Regions from separate parts of the Homo sapiens genome. Here all the other regions are linked to region 1. Evidence: promoter capture Hi-C in 16 types of primary human blood cells and fetal thymus (Javierre and others, 2016). All regions are on one chromosome and are shown on one strand. The core of a region is centred on a gene start or on the middle of the fragment in contact, and the rest is flanking DNA. Distances in the headings are between cores, read along the strand shown. Region 1 holds the start of ATP2B1 (ATPase plasma membrane Ca2+ transporting 1). Region 2 overlaps LINC00615 (long intergenic non-protein coding RNA 615). Region 3 has its middle 6.2 kb from the start of LINC00615.

Region 1 (4,225 bases), core at 527-3,026:
GGAGGATAAAGAAAAAGAGAGGGGAGGAGGAGGACCCAAATGAAACGCACAAGTACAAAAAGCAGATTCTCCTCCAATCCCTCTTAATTCCCCCAATCCACCCCTGCCACACACAAGGACAGGGAGTCTCGGGAAGGCTGGCATCGGGGCAAGTGGTGAAGGCCCTCCATTCACTCACGTGGGCCACCATCCAAAGGGTTACACACCCTCTGCCAGATGAGAGCCTCATACAAACCAGGCCCTTACAAGTACTTCTTATTATAAAATACACCCACGCTGAACAAAAGCCTTATTTTAAAATAAGACTGTCCTCAGGTGGGGGAGGTTAAACACAACAAAGGCTTCCATGTTGACAGGCAGACAAGTTCAGATATATGCATATACCTACACACGTATGAAAAAAATCTATGTAGCTAATTTATCACGAACAGCAATCGATACCAACAGAAGCCATTAGATTATTAATAAACCAAGAAAAGTAGCGGGCACAGAAGCGAAAGGTGGCTGTCTGCAGCGCTCTAACCCAAAGAAAAGGTAAATATCAGCCTGTCGAGGAGGGTCGAGCCCTCCAAGTACCTGCAGACCCCTTTAACCCACCCGGACGCCCTGCCCTCCCCTCCGAGCCAAGCAGCGCACAGGGTGCGAGCACTCCCAGCGCTGCGAGTCCCGCAGAAAACTGGTGAATGAAATGCGCACAGAGACCAACCTGGCTGGTGACCGCGGCGCAGAACCAGGGGTCGCTAACCAGCTTAGCCACAGGATTCTCCCGCAGGATGGGATAAAGAGAGCACAGCCCCCACCCCACACCCCTGCCACTGGAACGCGGTCCTCCTACAGACTCCTTCCTCAAAAAGGGAGGTGGGGGCGCAGGCTTTTTTCTCTTAAACTAAGTGAATAAACACGAATCGGAAACAACTGTGAACATCCTGGGGGGCCAGACGGAAGGCGTGAGGAGAAAGACCAGGCGGCTCTCCAACTCCCGAGGAATCACCGTCCTGACACGCCAACAATCAACCACCAGGGCCAGGGGCCGACCAGGGGCCCCCGCTCCCCTCCCGCAGTGCGTCTGGGGGGCCGAGGCCAAGGATTAGAGGGGTGACCCTCCCGGGGCGCGGGGAGAGGGAGTGCCGGGCACGGTGCCCTCAAGGTCACCACGCGCCGTGGCGGGGGCGACCGGTGGCGGGATGGGCTGTGGCGCGGCCGAGGCGGCTTCGTGAAGCCGAAGACCTGCGGGTGTAGACCAGAAGCCCCAACAAGCCCCATCCCTCGGGCCCGGAGCAGCGACTCCCAGACTGACCCGGCGCTGAGGTGCACGGCGAGAAGCCCGCTCACCTTCACAATCTCCCGGCAAGAGGCAACCTGCGAGGGGCCCCGACCGCCCCCGTCAGCTTCTCCCGAATCCGGCGCAACCCGCTGCGCACCCAGCTATCAGGATCCCCGCCGCGACGCCCGACCTCCGTGCTCCGCCTGGCCTCCCCCGCAGGTGACCTGCCCCGCCGCCCCCGGCCGCGGGCGGGCGGCGGCCGCCACTCACCTCGCCCGGCAGTGGGAACCATTTTCCGAGGGGGAAGGAAAGGCAGGCTGCGGGAGGGTCGCGGGGCGTTAAGGGGCAGCGGGAAACGCAGAGGATGGGGGCTCCGTCCTCAGCGCGTCCGCAGCCGGCTCGCAGGGCTCGGGGCGCCACGCGGAGGTGCAGCTGCACCTCGGGGATGGGGCGGCCAAGGAGCCGAGAGGCTCGGCGTCCACCAGCCGGGGCTCCCTACTCACGCTGCACTGCGAGGAGGCGGCGGCGGCAGCGAAGGAGGAGGAGGCGGCGCCCGGCCGTCCCCGCCCAGAGCCCGGCAGCCACCGAGTGGCCGCCCGCGTCCCCGCAGGACCCGCCTCCTCGGCTCCGCAGAGCGGCACACAGGGCGCGCCGCGCTCGCTCGGCACGGGCAGCTCAGCCGGCCTCACGCCGCCGTCCGCAACAGCAGCCGCGGGCGGGGTGCAGCCACCTCCGTGAGCGCCGCAGCCCGCCCCACTCGGGGCGGGGCCCGCGGGCACCGGAGAGCGGACGGCCGAGCACGAGGGGGCTGCGCGCAGCTCCGGGCAGGGACCCCGTCTGCACCGGGTGGCCTGCAAGATTGCCGGGGTAGGCAGGGGGAGGAGAACGCTCACCCGTTCCGGTCTGGCGCTCCCTTTTCTCCACACCCACACGCCTCCCGCTCCACGCTGGCGGCGCAGCTGCTCCCGCTGCCACAGCCGCCACCGCCGCCGAAGCTCGCGCCGCCGCCGCTGCCGCCTTGGCTGAGCGCGGTCACGTGACGCGATCCGCGGGGAGCCTGGGGGCGGGCGAGTGCGCGCGCGCGCGCGCGGAGGAACCGCGGCTCGGACCGGGACTGGGAGCTGAGCGGCACTGGGAGGGCGTTTAAGGGGAGGACCCGGCGAGCGCGCCCTCGGCTGGCGAGCGCGCGCCTGGCGATTAGAACTTGCCGCGCGGTCGGGAAAGGGTGGCCGGAGTGAGGGGCGGAGGTGGGGACTTGCGCCTCCGCACGCCCCTCCCTTTCTTCCTTCCCCTGAGCGCCTTGGCTTGCCGCTGCCCCCGCCCCCTCCAGCGCGCCCCTTCCCTCCTGCCGCAGCCTGCGATTGGCTGAGAGGCTCTGACGTCCGTGTTTCCATGACGTGTTGGTGCAGGAGGGAGCGGCGGGGGAGGAGGGGGTGGCCAGGCGCGCGGGGAGGTGACTCCGTCAGTCACAGCTGCTGTTTCGGCGCGGGGCCGGGCCGCTGCCGCGACGTGTGGAGGCAGGAGAGCGATGATTGCCGCAGGAGAAGTGCGGGCGCCCTTCACCTGGGGCCCCTCCCGAACCGCCCCCGGGCCCATGCCCCTCCAGGGCCCAGGAGCGAGCCAGCGGGAGGGCGAGGGCGAGCGCTCCTGGCGAGGACAGATTAAGGCGAACCCCCAGTCAGCGGACATTTGAGCGGCTCCTCGCCGCGTCTCTGCCCCCACTCCAAACCGGACTCGACGCCTGTCCCGGGCCGTGACGCACGCACCGGAGGAAAAAGTGCTTCTCGGCTCGCTCCCTCTTTGGGGAAGAGAGCTCACTCCCCATGCGGGCGCGGGACACTCCATCTCTGTTCCTGCCGGTCGGGTCCGCAAACACCGGGGATCCCAGCTGCGGCGCCCAAAGGGTTAACGCAGGCGTTCGGCCAGTGCAAACCGGCCTCGCAGGATCCGCGCTTAAAATCCGGGTGTTTTCATTTTGGGTTTGTTTCTTCTACTATGCCAAGCTGGTGGCTCTCTTTTAATTCTCTTGTAACATCTCAACCCTGCACCCATCTTTCCTGAGGGGAAAAGGAAACGGGATAACTTGCGGTATTTCGATGCTCAAAGGTAACCGGCGGCTCTGCTCCAACCTTCAAGAGATTTTGCAAGTTGAAAAAAAAAAAAAAACCATCCTTCGTAACATCTACTTAAAAAAAAAAAAGCAAGTTTTCCTTCTTGTACACGCATATACACAGTAAAGATGTGTATCTTACCTAAGATACCGCGCTTCATCTTCATCTAATCTTTATTTGAACTCACCGTCGCCACTGGCCCAGAGACCTTGTCAGTGTTATTTTCAGTATCAGTTAATCAGAACAAAAAGATAAGTTCTGCAATCTTCTTTCTCTTAATTCCAGAACTGGAAAATTAATATTTATATAGCCTCCTCAAAAGCATACAGGCAATAGGAAGTATGGTATTATGTTCACGATCTGATGATAGCATTTGTTTTAAAATATTTTAAAAGATTAGACACAAAATGTGTAAAAGACGTTTAAAAGTGAATAAATATAAATCAATGCTGTTGCAAATAATTTTTTTATCAGTTTATGTATCTCACTAGGCTTGACATTACCAGCCTTCTGAGCTGTGCCCTTGATGTGTAAGATAAACGAACATTGAACAGAATGATAGCATTTTTCCTCTCTTCAGTCACTGATGGAGAATTGGTTAATGTGGTACAATAAATAGCCCTTCCTGACACTATTTCAAATCTTTTTAACAGAAGAATAACCTAAATTTCACCTAATAAATTTCAATATTATTTCCCCCTAAAATATCTTTCAAAACGACTCAGAGACATTTAAGAATCACTGGCTTTTTTCCAACTTTTCCTCCAAGGAAGTTACAATACAATGTTGAATTATGTATTCTACTTTAATCAAGAATTTGACATTAAAGTAATATGTGAATCATTGCTAT
Region 2 (4,225 bases), core at 584-3,083, 1.2 Mb after region 1:
GAATCTAAGATTTCATCACACTCCCATCCATTTCAGAGTGGACTTAATGATATAAGGAAACAGACTATGTGGTTTCCAACCTCTGTCACCTATTAGCTGTGGGATCCTGGGTAACTTGGTCAAGAGCTCTTAGCATTGGCTTTCTCACTGCTAAACTAAGCATATGTTCTTAGCACAGGTCCTACACAAGGTAAACACTCAGCAAAGTGAAACAGAATAAAATAAGTGTTGGCTACGTTAAGCTTCACCAGGTACTCCAAATTGTAAAATTATAATAATCTAAAAATGTATTTTCATGTGCCTTTTAGAAACAGGAACATTGCCATGAGCATTTTTAAGATGGTTTATACTCATGGTGATTCTGTGGCCCAGCAAGTTGGAACCAAGAGCTTCTTGTTACATTAAAAAATTTTGTGTTCAGTTCCTGTGCAAATCTATGCATGAGGACAGGGCTATTATACCACACAGTTTAGAGCACAAGAGATGTGGCTGAGTCTCTACTTACTCTTTCTTCTGCTTTCCTAATGAAGTAGGTTTTAGTACACACATGGATAAGTAATTATGCTTCTCTGTTGGAACTACCTAAGAATCATAGATCATTTCATAGATTTATTTTTATTTTATTCTTTTTTTAAATATTGAAATTATGTATTAAGGGCTTCTTATGTGCAAGATTGTGCACTGGAAGTAGAAAGATGATCAATTCCTTGACCTATAACCTTTTTTAGACAGAAGAGAACCACAGGTAATTAACGATAATTTAGAAAGGATAATGGAAGTATCAATAAAGTGAAGTGTTAAGGAAGTACAAAGCAAGAAGTACAGAGCACCTCTTTCTAGAAGCGCTGTGGAAGAACTGATGAATGCATCACTAAGGCAGTTGTAAAGGCAGAAACTATCTCTCAGGCTAAGGCAGAGCCTGCTCGTAGCATTGATTTGTGCTCCCACTAGACCTAGATAGCAGCTGGAAAGAGCTGGGAATCAGGCAGCAATAAAAATATTAATTATCTTCTGGGTGCCAGACCAACAAACAAGCAAGTTTGTTTCTTTCCCTAACAAGATGTACTCTAATTAGTGGCCATGATCATTACACCATGTTTGAGTCCCAGGAGGTGATTGACTATCACAAGTCCTGCTTTCACTACCAGGCCAATGGATACATACTCTCATTTTTATTGCTTGAGATTAAAGTGTTAAGCATTATTTAGTTTAGCAATTTCAAATTTGATAATTGTCTTGTTTATTGTCACTATTTAAAGGAAAACAAATACACTGTCAGTGCAGATTGTGAATGTTAATTAGTGGTGTTACTGTCAAAAGGAATTTGAATAGACAGAAGTATTGTAGAAACACCTTCAGATAAAATATGATTCATGGAATAAAATTATTATAACTTTATCAAAATAATAATCCACAGACATACAAGGATTCTTCTGGGCCAATGTTTTCCCCCTTTCCTTCACACACTTTGGTAATTTATGTTTATGGCTTAGTCTTATAGTTCAAAAAGATACTAACTTTTAAACACCAAGCCGTATAGCAGCATATTCAAATAAATAATTTAAATATCTATCTTAATACGGTGCTTTGTCACAATACCATTACAGTACTCTTTTTGCATTTGTATTAATGTATTATGTGTTCTAAAAAATGCATCTGTGAATATAGTACAACAGCTCATCTATCATTAGCTTACATTTAAATGTTTTGCCTTTGCCACTAGGTGGCACCTATATATTAATAGTTGTGGAGCATAAGTTCTACATAAGAAGGCAATATAGACAGTGAAGGAGAGAAAAGTAAGCCATTTTATTAAATTTGTTTTGTATTTAAATATTTGTTCAGGAAATAATGTAGAATTCACAAAATTTTTTTAAGACTAGGGGAAAACATTAAATACTCATTATTCTTTTTAAAAAAATGATGAACATTGATTTTGGAAAAATCCACTGGGGGTTGCCAGGGGAACATATACAGCCACTTAGTCTTGACCTCAGCTTGCCATCCTATATTATAATCTCCCAGTTCAAGGAAATTCTGCAATCAATAAAAATTAATAAAAAATAAGAACTGTAATTATATATGGCAGCATTAAAATTCTGCTTTTGGTGGTACTATTTAATGATAAATGTCATATGAAATGTGTAGTCTAATAGAAATTTTTGTGATAAATGGTAAATTAACACCAGTTAAGAGTCTTAAATTACTAGGCCTAAAACTGACATGCTAAAAATCTAAATATATTTAGGAGAGGATACACAAATAATGCATGATAACAGAACTATCAATCATTATAAAAATTTCAAATGCCCTCTGAAACCATCAGGAGATGCCAATATTAATAGCTTAAATAACAGCTAAAAATGCCAGTTAATGTCAAATCTAAATTTTTAAAGAGAAATGTGGATTTCTAGTCTTAGGTGTTAAAAGTTTACACAAAATAACCTTCCTGGGATAATAAAATATCACCAATAGAATTTGAAAGAAATCAAAAAGTAAGAGAACATGCAGTAATCATTAAAATTTTATTACAACTCTTGGTACTGTCTATGCTTCACTAAATATTGCATTGTATTTATTTATTGAAATCACAGTATTGAATTTAGGCAGCACAAGGTTAATAGCTAGATAGAAACACAGTGTCCAGCTCATGAGAAGAGTGCATGGATAGTATGTGATTAGTGTCTTAAGTTGAGAATAACCATTCTAAAAGCAACATCCAAAAAAGAAAAAGAAATAGATTTAGAATGAAACAAGCAGCCTAGAAAGAAGGTAAGTCAAAACCTATGTAACATGAACAATGGTGTAAATAAGTAGGGGAGCTTCTCCAAAAGATAGTCCAAATACAGCCAAGTCCTTTTTGTGTTTGAAATATAATACCTTTGTTTATTTTCCTATAGTGCAAAACTAGGACCAGTTGGTGGAATCTGTGGTCAAAAACAAAAGCCTTCCTTTTTTTTTTTTCAAGGTAAGCATCTTGCTCTGTCACCCAGGCTGGAGTGCAGTGGCTTCATCTCTGCTCACTGCAACCTCCACCATCTCCTGGGCTCAAGCCATCCTTCCACCTCAGCCTTCCGAGTAGCTGAGACCACAGCCATGGGTTACAATGCCTCAGATAACAAACATTACTTTTTTTGATAGGATGGGGTTTCTCCATGTTGCCCCTGCTGGTCTCAAACTCCTGGGCTCATACAATCCCAAAGTGCTGAGATTATAGGCATAAGCCATTGCACTGGGCAGGACAATTTTTTTTTTTAAATTAAAACTAGAACTTCTTATTGAGGGAAATACGACCATGTATTTTAAATTGTAAAAAACAGTTCTGCATGTGATCTTCATATAGAAAACATTAATATATTTTCTGTATAAAAAGAAGGGAGGAATAAAAGATTTGAGCTGATGACCTTTCAACATACAAAGTCTACAAGCTTTTTATTTAAAGCCATTGTTTGTATGTTAAATTTTACAATAATTGAGATAATTATAGATACTTTAGTAGTTGGAAATGAGTCAGAAATACATGCATGGTCTACATGTTGGAAATAATTTTGTTATACTAAGGTAGACCCACTAGGGTACTATAGCATGTGCAGTGGAGAAATGACCCTAGCAAGTTGTCAAAAGTCACTAGGGGCTCAAAGTTGTAGGGCATTAGGACCTAGTGTTCATAGTTACAGAGAACATTTTAGCTCTATTATGTAGTATCCTATAGCTGCCCATTATTCAAGGAGGGCAATTGTCAGTCACTCCCCTTGGGAATCCTTCTGAATATAGGATTTTTCTGTTAGAGAAACTCTGCTATGTACCTCTATTTATACAAGTATTTATATGTAAGCGGATTTCTAAAATGGTTGACATCTAAAAGTTAAATTCTGCACTTGTTATACCCATCTTGACTGGATTTATCTTGAAATGAAAGTATACTTGATTTAAGGCAATGCCAGAGAAGTATTTAAATGTAGTTTGTTCCAGGAATACATTTGTCTCCAACACTCCCTCCCTGCCTCTCCCCCTGCCCCTTGTAGTAGAACTACTAGATCATATTACCATGCAGCAATATATAGGTAGAGCAGTAAAAGATTCTCGCAGGGCCTGAAAGCTTAAGGGAATGAATAACTCCTCTCTTCTGAGGCCCAGTCCCAAGACGCAAGACCACTTGCGCCAGCAGCGTGCATCAGCAAGATAGCAAAAGCAGGACGAGAGCTGCCCGGAAGACATCTACCTG
Region 3 (4,225 bases), core at 988-3,487, 1.2 Mb after region 1:
CTCAGGTCTACCAATACCTGGAACATAATTAAATGCTTCTCAAAAGCTGGCTTCATGAGCTGTAAGATCAACAGGGACCTCTAGACCATATATACATATATATTTAAGATGACCATACTGCCCAAAGCAATCTATAAATTCAATACAATTGTTATCAAAATACCAATTTTATTTATTACAGAACTAGAAAAAGCTATTTTTAAATTAACACGGAACCAAAAAAGAGCCCAAATAGCCAAAGCAATTCTTAGCAAAAAGAACAAAGCTGGAGACATCACATTATCTGAATTCAAATTATGCCACAAAGTTCTAGTAATCAAAACAACATAGTACTGATATAAAAATAGACACATAGATCAGTGGAACAGAATAGAGAACCCAGAAATAAAACCACGTATGTGTTACCCACTGATCTTTGACAGAGCTGACAAAAACATGCACTGAAGAATGGACACCCTATTCAATAAATGGTCCTGGGAAAATTGAATTGACATATGCAGAGGAATAAAACTGGGCCTTTCTCTCACACAACATATACAAAAATTAACCCAAGATGGATTAAAAAGTTAAATGTAAGACTAAAACCTGTCTAAGTACTAGAAGAAACTCTAGTTTCTATGAGAAACTCTTCTGCACATTGGTCTAGGTAAATAATTCACAACTAAGACCTCAAAAACACAAGCAACAAAAATAGACAAAAGTGACTTAATTAAACTAAAAAGCTTCTGCACAGCAAACAAAATAACAGAGGGAACAAACAACCTTCAGAAAGGGAGAAAATATTTGCAAACTATGCATTCAACAGAACACGAATATCCATAATTTATAAGGAAATCTACCCAATGACAACAAAAAACAACTCTGTTAAAAAGCAGGTAAAGAACATGAGCAGACATTCAAAAGAAAACATACAAAGATCCAACAAGCATATACAAAAAAATTCTCAACATTAGTAATCATCAGATAAATGCAAATTAAAACCATAAGGTGATATCACATTACAACAGCCAAAATGAAAAAAAAAAAAAAAAACATACACTGGCGAGGATGCAGAGAAGAAGAAAATTTACTTACTGTTGGTGAGAATGTAATTACTACAGCCTCCATGGAAAACAGTATGGAGATTTCACAAAGAACTAAAAATAGAACTATCATTGGATCCAGCAATCTTACTACTCAACATCTTCCAAAGGAAAAAAACAAGTCAGCATATGAAAAAGGTGTGTGTATGTTTATCATTTATTGTGGCACTATTCACAATAGCAAAGATATGTAATCAACAAATCTAAGTGTCCATCGACGGATTAGATAAAGAAAATGTGGCCTATGTACACAATAGAATACTACTCAGCCACAGGAAAGAATGAAATCATGTCTTTTGAGCAACATGGATGGAATCGGAGGCCATTATCTAAGTGAAACAACTCAGAAACAGATAAAGACTGCATGTTTCACCTATGACTGGGATCTAAATAATGTGTACACCAGAGTGTGGAATAATAGACATTGGAGACTTGGAAGATTGTGGGAGTGAGAGGGGAGTGGATGATGAGAAACTTCTTAATGGATACAATATACATTATCTGAGTGGCTGATACACTAAAAGCTCAGACTTCACCACTATTCAGTATATCCATGTAACAAAGCTGCATGTATACCCCTAAAATGTAGATAAATTTTTAAAAAAGTTTAAAGAGGTTTGTTTGGTTCACAGTCTGGGTGTAATGGCTATCTATATTTTTCTTAATAGAATATTGTGGGTTATACAAATGAAGGTTACTTATGTACTAGATGTTAAGCCTCAGTTGCTAGAGATGAAACATCACCCTACAATTTTGATCTTATTTTACTATTAATTATTTTCCAAAAAGCCTCTTAATTTCCTAAGTGGTTTTGAAACTCTAACCCAAGTGAATTGTGTGCAATATTGAAAATCAAACAAAACAGGAAAATTATATAAAATCGCAGCAGTTCTCAGGATAAAAGCTATTAATGAATCTAAATTGAGACCCTCCTCACTCATCCTAAGTCACTAACAACGACGATTTTATGATGGCATGTTCTGTAAAATTGTGGTGGTCTTCTTCTTTGGAATCTGACACTTAAAATATCATATGTGGATAACTGAGATCATAATGAATTTGTGCCAGTGTAAGACACAGCTCTTAAGCAGAGAAAATAAAAATATTTTTAAAAAACCTCCATGGACTCTTGAAGATCAAAGTTTGTGCTTGTATATAAAAGATAACATTAAACTGTTATCTCTAGAGAATATTTCTCTTGAGAATCTGAAGAAAATTTTGAAGAAGATACAAATATATGTTGGTGTGAAGACATGCGGAAAAGAGGATAAAAGAATCCATGCCCAGATGCCGTTTGGCTTCATGCTCTTTATTGCTCCACTCTTATCATCTCTCCTACTAGCTCCCATCACAGGATTATTTCTATTCTTATAGTGGATCTAATTCGCCCCCTACCTCCTGGACTGGTTTAGCTCCAAGATTGTGTTCCCAAAAAACTTTATTTGGCATCAAGACTATTCTTGCTTCTGAGCCTTATATTTTGTTCAGTCTGTGCTTAACAATGCAGTCACTTTCTCTGGATATCAGTAATGAAACTTCCTTTCCTTGGTCCCCATCCCATGTTGTCAAGTCCCCATGCTATGGCTTTTGAGATTCTCAAGTCCCTGAAGGTGGATCTATTTTACCCTCCAAACCCATTTCAATGAACTGATGGCCTAGAATACTTTTACTGTCTTGGAGCCTGAGCTGAAAGCTCTCAAGGCCTTTATGAACTGCACTGGAGTCATGATCCTTGTTTCCCACACTATGACCACCAGTTAGAATCTTGTAGTGAGACATGCATTCTAGTCCCACACTCCTTTATTTTATAAAGTACCATCAAAAGTCTCAGTGTTGACTGCATGTGCCAAATAATCCCATCTTTATAAAACAGATCTAAATATCAACTATAAAGATCCAAGGAGTCACGAAAATGAGAACTTCCGATGGTGCTTTCGAAGACATGGAATGGAATGTATGGAAAATTCACTGGGGAATGAAGAAGACATGAATAAAAGAGAACCAGGCAGTGGCAATGACCAGTTGAAAATAGAGGGCACAAATATCTCATTGTTTAGATCTTCATTATGTTTTATTTTCCCTAAGGATTAGTGTGTGGGCTTGTGTTGTGGACTGTATGTTTGTGTCTCTCCAAAATTCATATGTTGAAGCCGTGTATTAGTCTATTTTTATACTGCTATAAAGAACTGCCTGAGACTGGGTAATTTATGAAGGAAAGAGGTAATTAATTCACAGGTCAGCATGGCTTGAGAGGCCTCAGGAAACTTATGATCATGGTGGAAGGTGAAGGGGAAGCAAGGCAATTTCTTCACAAGGTGGCAGGAAGGAGAATTGCTGAGTGAAGGGGGAAGAGCCCATTATAAAACCATCAGATCTCATAATAACTCACTCACAATTATGAAAACATCATGGGGTAAACAGCCCCCATGATTCAATTACCTCCAACTGGTCTCTCGATTGACATGTGGAGATTATGGGGGTTACAATTCAAGATGAGATTTAGGTTGGGACACAAAACTTAACCATATCATTCTACCCCTGGCTCCTCCTAAATCTCATGTCCCTTTCATATTTCAAAACTAATCATACTTTGCCAGCAGTTCCTCAAAGTATTAATTCATTCCAGCATTAACCCAAAAGTCTAAATCCATAGTTTCATCTGAAAAACAGGCAAGCTTCTTCTGTCTATGAGCCCATAAAATCAAAAGCAAGTTAGTTACTTCCTAGATACAATGGGAGTTTAGGCAATGGGCAAATACACCTGTTCCAAATGGGATAAATTGGACAAAACAAAGGGATTACAGGCCCCATGCAAGTCCAAAATTTTAAAGTTCCAAAATGATCTCCTTGATTCCACGCCTCACATCCAGGACATGCTGATGCTAGAGATGGGTTCCCATGGTCTTGGGCAGCTCTGCTGCTATGACTTTGAAGGGTACAGCCCCCCTCCTGGCTTCTTTCATGGGCTGGCATTGAGTTTCTGCAGCTTTTCCAGGTGCATGGTACAAGCTGTCATTAAATCTACCACTCAGAGGTCTGGAGGATGGTGGCCTTTTTCTCACAGCTCCACTAGTCAGTGCTCCAGTGTGGACTCTGTGTGGAGGCTCCACTCCAATTGCACATTTCCCTTCCACATTGCCCTA

What was found. The method cuts DNA at HindIII sites, captures the fragments that hold promoters and counts their contacts. A CHiCAGO score of 5 or more calls a contact.
Region 2: a contact is called between a fragment that was not itself captured here and the fragment with the promoter of ATP2B1 in region 1, in 1 of 17 cell types (endothelial precursors). The highest score is 5.2, in endothelial precursors.
Region 3: a fragment that was not itself captured here is called in contact with the fragment with the promoter of ATP2B1 in region 1 in 1 of 17 cell types (endothelial precursors); the score reaches 5.1 in endothelial precursors.

The regions. Positions count from the first base shown.
Region 1 is chr12:89,707,062-89,711,286 of GRCh38, forward strand. ATP2B1 (ATPase plasma membrane Ca2+ transporting 1) reads right to left here and starts at 1,777. Exons shown (of 21, transcript NM_001366521.1): 1 at 1,535-1,777. ATP2B1-AS1 (ATP2B1 antisense RNA 1) reads left to right here and starts at 1,894. Exons shown (of 1, transcript NR_028138.1): 1 at 1,894-4,225. RefSeq lists enhancers at 656-745, 756-855 and silencers at 1,046-1,275, 1,426-2,445, 2,466-3,015. The HindIII fragment of the contact is 7,681 bases long and covers 1-4,225 here.
Region 2 is chr12:90,943,524-90,947,748 of GRCh38, forward strand. It overlaps LINC00615 (long intergenic non-protein coding RNA 615), which reads left to right. Exons shown (of 5, transcript NR_038868.1): 4 at 2,901-2,968; 5 at 4,132-4,225. Among named protein-coding and RNA genes, the nearest start is that of CCER1, 9.5 kb to the right of the region's middle. The HindIII fragment of the contact is 3,186 bases long and covers 241-3,426 here.
Region 3 is chr12:90,909,747-90,913,971 of GRCh38, forward strand. No RefSeq gene overlaps it. Among named protein-coding and RNA genes, the nearest start is that of LINC00615, 6.2 kb to the right of the region's middle. The HindIII fragment of the contact is 3,035 bases long and covers 721-3,755 here.